Linked DNA regions of Homo sapiens: regions 2 and 3 are each linked to region 1. The links are contacts of gene promoters, found by promoter capture Hi-C in human tissues and cell types (Jung and others, 2019). All regions are on one chromosome and are shown on one strand. The core of a region is centred on a gene start or on the middle of the fragment in contact, and the rest is flanking DNA. Distances in the headings are between cores, read along the strand shown.

Region 1 (2,700 bases), core at 201-2,700:
CGCAGAGAAACGGGAGCGCCACACTCAGGCCCCAGGAAGGCAGCAAGCTGAGTTCCCCTGGCCTCAGTTCACTTTCCCTCTTGAAAGTCACCCAAACTCAAGCAAAAGCTCCGATTCAGGAATAAATGGGGTTGTTTTATCCCAGCCAAGGCCTGGGGAAGCTTGGTATTAAGAGCGTTTGTTCCATTCTTTTAAAAATGGAAAAGGGTCCGTCCTCTGGGTGCCCATGGCACCCTGGAAAGCAGGCAGAGTGCTGGTCACAGGCGGAGACTTTGAGATACCGAGACCGAGGCTGGAGTTTGGGCCCTGAAACTTTCTAACCAGGATGGCCTTGGGCAGAGCAGCCTGTGTTTAGAGCTTCCCATCTGTAATATAGCAGTGACAACCATGCCTGCTTTGCAGGGTTCCTGTTAGGATTAATTCTCTATAGAGCCCCCCAGAAGCCACTTTTGGATTTGAGATGGTTCAAGGCCAGACCTTGCATGACAAGAGTAGGGACAGCTTTCCACAGGCCTCAATAAAGTAGTATTCCCAGGCAGTTCTGCAACCCCAGCCTCATGCCCTTTGCACCTTCCTAAGAGGCTGCCTTGCCTCAGCTTTGGTCCCCATCCAAGACTCCTAAGAGCAAAGCCAGTTCTTTTCCTTTTTTTTCTTTCTTTAAGAGACGGTCTCACTCTGTCACCCAGGTTGAAGTGCAGTGGTGGGATCATAGTTCACTGCAGCCTCGAACTCCTGGGCTCAAGCAATCCTCCCGCTTCAGCCTCCCAAAATGCTGTAGGTCACAGGTATGACTCACCCACCCGGCCTAATTTTTATTATTATTTGTAGAGATGGGATGTCACTGTGTTGCCCACGCTCGAACTGCTGGGCTCAAGCAATCCTCCCTCCTCAGCCTCACTGGCAGCTGGGATTACGAGTCCCACCCAACCTGCTTCTCCTTTTGCAACCCCCAGACCCAGAGGCTCCAGAGCAGGCTCTGGAACAGAGGAAATCTGGCTCCGGCCCACACATTCACCAAATACTGACGCAGCACCCTTGACCTCCAGATGCCCCTGTGCTCTCTTCTGTGCCCAGGCTGCGGGGAGAGAGGGGTCCTCCAGGCCAAAGGGAGGGAGGTCTCCGGGAGGTCCCCGCGGTCCTGGAGGCAGGTGCGCGGGGCCCGGATGTGATCATGCGTGCGCGTGGGAGAAAGGCAGGGCTGGGCCTGCGGGAGCGCGGCCTTGCGGTTCCCAGGACTCTTCTCCGGGCGCCTCGTCTCCTTACGCCACCCGCAACCCAAGCCAGGGCCCCGGTGACAGCGGCGGGGTGGGCCAGGACCGGGGAGGGGGTGCCCAGCAGCGACCCCCGGCTCCCCCTAAGGCCGGGCGCAGCTCGGAGCCAGGAGCTGGCCCGGCGCGTGGCTTCCCGGAAGGCCCGGCGCAGCCGGAAGGTGGGACGGAGGGCGGGGCCAGCGCCGGGGCCGCCACCAAGGCCTGCGCGACCCTCCGCGGGGCTGGGGAGCTGGGCGGGGAGCCCGGGGCCTGCCAGGCCCGGGCTGCAGCCGCGTCTGATCGCCGAGCGCGCCGCGTAGACCTCCGCTCCCCCAGGTAAAGGAGCGCCCGGAGCCGGGGCGGGGCGCCTCCCAGGCCGCGCCCCGCGAGAGGAGGGGGCACCCCAAGAGCAGGCCTGGAGACCCGGGAGTGCCTTGGGGAGAGGGTCCCCGCCCTGCCGGGAGCCCGGCCCTCCCGGTGCCGGGGTGGACACTGTTAGTGTAGTCATTGTCCCTATGGAGAAACTGAGGCATGGAGAGGCTGAAGTCACACAAGTAAGCAGCAGAGCTGGGACTAGAGTCCCGGGCCCTGGCTCGCTGTCACCCAGGAGTGGCGTAGGCATGGGTGTGGTGGGTGGGGGTGGGGTGCGGGTGGTGGATGTGGTGGGAGTGGGTGAGGTTGGGTGGGGTGGGGATGTGGGTTTGGCGGGGGTGGGGTGCGGAATGTGATGGGTAGGGGTGGGGTAGAGTGGGGGTGGCTGGTGGGGCAGGGGCGGGGCTGGGGGTGGGGTGCTAGGTATTATAAATGTGAAGCGGATCCTGACAGGACACCTGTGGGGCAGCGGAGCTGGGCTGAGCCATATGGGAAGAAAATCTGGGCGCTAGTTTAGATTTGGTCAGGAAGGGTCGTTAATGCTTTAGGAGGTGAGATTAGTTTTGGGGATGGCAGGTAGTTTGTTGAGCTTTTGTTTAGACAGTCTTGCTCTGTTGTCCAGGCTGGAGTGCAATGGCGCGATCTCGGCTCACTGCAACCTCCACCTCCCTCGTTCAAGCAATTCCCCTGCCTCAGCCTCCCTAGTAGCTGGGATTACAGGCGACACCACCAAGCCTGGCTAATTTTTTTGTATTTTTAGTAGAGACGGAGTTTCACCATATCGGCCAGGCTAATCTCAAACTCCTGACCTTGCGATCCACCTGCCTCAGCCTTCTGCAATGCTGGGATTACAGACGTGAGCCACCCCGACCAATTTTTGTATTTTTTAGTAGAGACGGGGTTTCACCATCTTGGAATAGCACCTGTAGTTCCAGCTACTCGGGAGGCCGAGGCGGAAGAATTGCTTGAGGCCAGTTCCCGACCAGCCTAGGCAACACAGGGAGACTGCGTTTCTGGAAAAAACAACAACAACACCAGCAACAACAAAAAGCAGGAAGGAAGGGGAGAGGGAAAGAGA
Region 2 (2,700 bases), core at 156-2,655, 520 kb before region 1:
GTGAAAAGATACACAAAGTTTCCTCATGTTACTCTGAAGGTTAAGAGTCCGTTGATGATAGAGATTAGTAAAAGGAGGGTCGCCTTGGCCCCCACAGTCCAGCAAGAATTCCACTCGCCTACCTTTGAGATGAAGATCAGTGATCATAAATACCTTCACGTTTAAGCTCAAATTATCATATTATGATTTTGTGTTTGATTCTGCTAAGCCCTCTGATTCCTAGAGAAACAAGGGCTCCATCCCCAGCCTCCCCAGGCTGCCTGGCCCTTTCACAATGGCCTCCACGGGAGGCCAACCTCTACCAGAAGTGAGTCAAAGAGACAGATTCCAATGCGAAAGTCTGTCCCGGGGAAGGAAGCAGCTGGAAACCACTCATTCTTCAGATCAATGAACAAATTATTTTATTGAAGGTGGTATTTGGAGATCACACAAAAATTGTGTGATTTTCATCTGAGCAATATTATCATGCAAAGGGAGAAAAAGTTTTCTTAACAACAGACTCCTGCTGTCCCCCAGATCCACACAGGGGCCTGGTATTTTTCACCTGAGTGGCCAGGCTCCTTAGCCAGGCAGTGCCTAGAAGAAAAAAAAAAAAATCTCACAAGAATCTAGCTCCTGTCAACATTTTGAGACGTGAGGATCAAGTTGCTGGTGTCAGTGAGACAAAGGAGCAGAATGTCAAAATGCAACCAGTTCTTCAGGAAGCATTTGGAAGATGGCACATACTCTAATATCTGGAATATATTACTTGACCTCACCAGACAGCCATCGCCAAAGAACAAACATGCCAACATGCCGGGCATACACATCCCTACCACCCCCCTCCAAAGGACAAGCCATATCACCATCCGTTACATCCCAGGGCACTGTCATGGGGAATGCCAACCAGATGACCAGACCCTGGCTGAGCTAATCGTTTGTCACCTACTAAGAAAGCCACTGTGTCTTCTTGGGGTGGCAGTAGTTATTAAAGGGGAAAATTGCTACCTTGCAGCCTTAATCCATTTTTAGATGATGGAAATGTTCATGTTATCTTGTCTGTACTTCTTCTGCCTTCAAAATAGATGGAAATTTTAAATGGAACTAAAATTCCAATTGTACCCCCCCCCCGCCCCAACTTTAACAAAAGCTTTTTCAAAATACTTTCAGGATGAATGTGTACACACAGGGTGAAAAAGCCAAAAAGAAGGAAATGGGTGGGGTGGGGGGGCTGAAACAAAACAAAACAAAAATCACACGGAAAATAAATATGAAGTTGTCAAACCAATGATCTCTAAAAAGAATTGCAGATGGAGTGTCTGGCTTTTTGCTTAAGAAATGGTGCATGCAATGTCCATGAGAGCTCCAGGCAGGCTGTGGCTTCAGACTGTTCCCAGCTACATGCAAGTCCTCAGTACCCGGCGGCGGCAGGACTCAGTGAGAGAGTGGCTTTGCCAAGACCAGCACAGAAGCAAGCCCTCCACTATCAGAGGAGGTTTCGGCTGCGCAGATTAAATCCTTTCATGCCGGCATGTGGCCGCTTTTCTTCCTCCTCGCATTCCCACACTACCACTTTTCCACCTTTTGAACTCTTCTTGGGCTGTTGGAGGGGGACTGCCCACCCACCAGCATTGACCCTCTTTCGGGTGGAAACGTTGGGGAATAAAGTTTCTCTGATGCTGTGGAATCCATGCACTGAGTTTAATGAACAGATCCAGCCATGTTCTATCCGTGAGACGCTCTCTGCTCGGTGCAGATTTAAGGCTGCTGAAATAGCCACTTGGCATCAACAGATTACAACCCCAAAACTGGGGGCCCTGGCCGGGGAAGCAAAATAATTAAAGCACTTTAGCTCTAATTGCAGTAAGACTTCCCAGCCCCTTCAATAGGCTTCATATAAATGACGGCCTTTCCATAATAATTTGGAAGACATTGCCTGATTTGATTTAAATAGATTTTAATCGGGAATTAAAATTTTGGGAAAATAACCACACACAAAAATTGTGTAAGCTACTTTTTTTCTCTAGTCAATAAGGGATAAGTGTTTCTAGATATTTCAGAAGATAAAATTAAATATCAAGCTATTCAAAGAGATTAAATTTTATATGTAATATCTATGTGGGCTGTGATCTGTTTGCTGTCTCTATAGTTACTTGTTAGCTGACATAGCATTTCCAAATATTTTCTCCCTCTTAATAACAAATTCACAACAATGTATATGTTCTCAAAGTAGCAAGTTCCGGTTGACATTTTTAACTTTCCTTTTCAAGGCGGGTTAACATTATTCAGAAGGATGATTTTGTTCTCAGTGCTAAGGACAGTTTAGGGAGGCAGGAGTGCAAACAAGGCTGAGACACGCGCCTCCTGGGCCAATGCAGCTGGCTTCCAATGCCCGCTCGGCCATGCCACAGGCATGGGCAGCAACAAGTTCCTACACCCCTCAGTTTGCCCACTGCGGAAGCTGCCCCAAGGGAGGCCCTTCCCTGGGGCATTAAAAGAACTAAGCAAGATAATGCACCCGGGGTGTGTAATGTAGTGCCTGGCATGGGGTCACCACCCAATAGTGGCCACTGCAGGTGTCAATGTTGTGGCCACCTCTCCATACCTACACCGAAGAGCCCCAAACCTTCCCTTCCTCCTGTACCTGGAAACCACAAGCAGGAATGTCTGCTGAATTAATACCACCTCCCGAGGGTCCTACGATCTGGTACTTGCATGAAC
Region 3 (2,700 bases), core at 146-2,645, 930 kb before region 1:
TGCAGTAATTCCATTTCTGGTGGTCTTCCCTAGAGAAATACTCTAAAGCACGAGGGTGAAGATGGAATAAGAGGAGCTGCCTTTATGTTCAAAGACATTCCCTGTATTATATTTGTAATAATAAAAACATTGGAAACAGTCGACATATTCAACAATAGGGTAAATAACTATATAATGATATTTTAGTGTAGCCATACGTTTATACATATACGTTTTAATAACATGAGAAAAAATTTCATACTACACATATATATTACATGTATATGACATGCAGAAATCATATGACAGCAAGATTACAATTCCATAAAAGCTAGGCACAGGAAGAAAGCTGAAAGGAGATAAACTAAAACTGTGGCATTCTTCATGCAGTAAGCAATGTCTGGGAGTTTTTTCTATTTTTTAAATAATCAGAACAGAAAAAAATAGAATTTGCTTTTCTTTCAAGAAAACACAGGTTGATTTCTTTTTTGAGAAGTAAAACAGATTGGGTTAAATGTAGTATATTAAAAGTAAGCTTCAGTTAACTTCCATTTTTTGTGAAAAAGTAAAATTTCTATTAATGCTAAAGATTTTATCTCACGAACATGGTAAAATGTTTTATTTAAATATTTTATACTTGAAATATTATAAGGCCTTAGCTGCTGATCCAGAGATAACTAAGCGGTACTGAAGCTGAACTAGAGACTTACGCAGGTGGGAATGTGTACAGCTGCATAGGGTTTTCATGTGTCCACAGCATTCTGTGTCTATGTCCCAGACAGGGCCTTCATACCAAACCAGGATGTGCCCCAGGAGACGTGCTCCCCAACAGCAGGGCTGTGAATGACGGCATTCTGCTGCTGACACGAGGCCCTAGCCCAGGTCTGGTATAAGACAACATCTTAGTAAATGCTGCATAAGAAATGAATGTCCTTTGAATGTGCCTCTGATCTCTGTGAAACTGTAAGCTTGCCTGGAATGATGGCCACTGCTACCACTTCATATAGGATATGGAGTGCCTGTGCCTGCACAGAGGGATATTCAGGAGCTACCAGTACAAACACCAGGTCAGCAAACCTCCCTGCCTTGCAGGCTGGTAAGACGGTGCAGGGAGAAGCCTGGAGGATCTTGGGCCTGACTCTTGCGAGGCACAATCTTACGATACCTCAATTTGCCAGTCCTTAGAACTGGGGAGATAATCTTCTTCCCCAGAGATTTTGGTGTGCTGAGTCAGAAGTAAAGAAATAAGTTTTCTCTCAAAGGCTGAAACAGTGCTGATTGCCAAACAGGGGAGGAAAATCTGGTTTTAGTTATTTAAGACGTTATTTTACTTCTACTTCTGGCTATAGTAAAAGAGCCTGTAACAAATCAACTGTCTTATTGAGCACAACTAGAAAAGCTGCATGAAAAAAACAGTGGTGCGTATTTGTGTGTATATAACCAATTTTTTTTTTCTTGAGACAGGGTCTCACTCTCACTCTGTTGCCCAGGCTGGAATGCAGTGGCGTGATCTTGGCTCACTGCAACCTCTGCCTCCCGGATTCAAGTGATCCTTCCACCTCAGCCTCCCAAGTAGCTGGGACTACAGGCACGTGCCACCACGCCCAGCTAATTTTTGTATTTTTTGGTAGTGATGGAGGTTTCACCGTGTTAGCCAGGCTGGTCTCAAACTCCTGACCTCAGGTGATCTGCCCATCTCGGCCTCCCAAAGTGCTGGAATTACAGGCGTGAGCCACAGCACCTGGCCAGTATGTGAGTATATAAATAATTTCAAGGTGTAATAGAGTTATCAAAGGAGCCAAGACTTGACAGGTCAAGATTCTAAAAAGGAAGGAGCACAGAATGCTGGGCTTGCTTTTGACTTTGCTTTTCCCCTTGAGACAGTTGTGAACTTACAAATGGCAGCCAACGAGATGCTGAGAAGCAAAGCAGAGACATCCGTAGTCCAAGGGACCAAGAAGATAAACACCAGAATCTAGGGCTTTGTAAGGCAGAAGTTTCCTGATAAGCACCCCGCACACTTATTTGTTACCCCTAAAGGGGCAGAAGAAGGAGTAAGAACAGATAAGAAATAAATCCTTAAAATCTGCTCAATTTCTGATTGACTTATGGTGATCTTCCGCAAGCCTAATGGCCTACTGGAAACAAAAGTAAATCCTCCCTAGAGGAAGATAACACCATCCAGAGCTGTGCTGCCTGCCAGGGTAGCTGACGGCCATGTGGCTACTGGGAACTTGGGATGGGGCTTTGTCAGAATTGAGAAGTGCTATGAGGGTAAAACACTCACTGGATTTCCAAGACTTAGTACAAAAAAGACACGTAAAATGTCCCATTAATACTCTTTATATTGGTTACCTGCTCAAATGATAATACTTCGGGTACACCAGGTTAAATACAACAAAATACGTTCTTAAAAATAGTTAACTATGTATTCATGCTTATTTAATGTTGCTACTACAAAATTTAAATGACGTGGGTGGTTCACATTACATTCCTATTTGGCAGTTCTCATACAGTCAAAAGGCATCTCTAAAATTTGTATACGCCATGTCTGACATTTGATAAAAATTACCAGGAACACCAGGAAATACGACCAAATGAGTAAAAACAAAGACAGAAAATCAGGCAACAGCTAATGTAATCAGGCCTACCAAAGATACAAATATTGAGTTCTAGAGTTACAGACTTTAGAATAACTATACCTGATATATTTAAGAAAAT

Evidence for each region. The method cuts DNA at HindIII sites, captures the fragments that hold promoters and counts their contacts. A contact is called where the count stands out against the background at its distance.
Region 2: a contact is called between a fragment that was not itself captured here and the fragment with the promoter of C19orf12 in region 1, in 1 of the 25 tissues and cell types used here (H1 embryonic stem cells).
Region 3: a fragment that was not itself captured here is called in contact with the fragment with the promoter of C19orf12 in region 1 in 1 of the 25 tissues and cell types used here (dorsolateral prefrontal cortex).

Annotation. Positions count from the first base shown.
Region 1 is chr19:29,714,011-29,716,710 of GRCh38, reverse strand. It overlaps C19orf12 (chromosome 19 open reading frame 12), which reads left to right and starts at 1,450. Exons shown (of 3, transcript NM_031448.6): 1 at 1,450-1,586. RefSeq lists enhancers at 91-310, 856-955 and a silencer at 1,126-1,915. The HindIII fragment of the contact is 8,975 bases long and covers 1-1,476 here.
Region 2 is chr19:30,234,940-30,237,639 of GRCh38, reverse strand. It overlaps a transcript of ZNF536 not described here. Among named protein-coding and RNA genes, the nearest start is that of ZNF536, 140 kb to the left of the region's middle. The HindIII fragment of the contact is 8,727 bases long and covers 1-2,700 here.
Region 3 is chr19:30,638,989-30,641,688 of GRCh38, reverse strand. It overlaps a transcript of ZNF536 not described here. Among named protein-coding and RNA genes, the nearest start is that of ZNF536-AS1, 30 kb to the left of the region's middle. The HindIII fragment of the contact is 3,093 bases long and covers 1-2,700 here.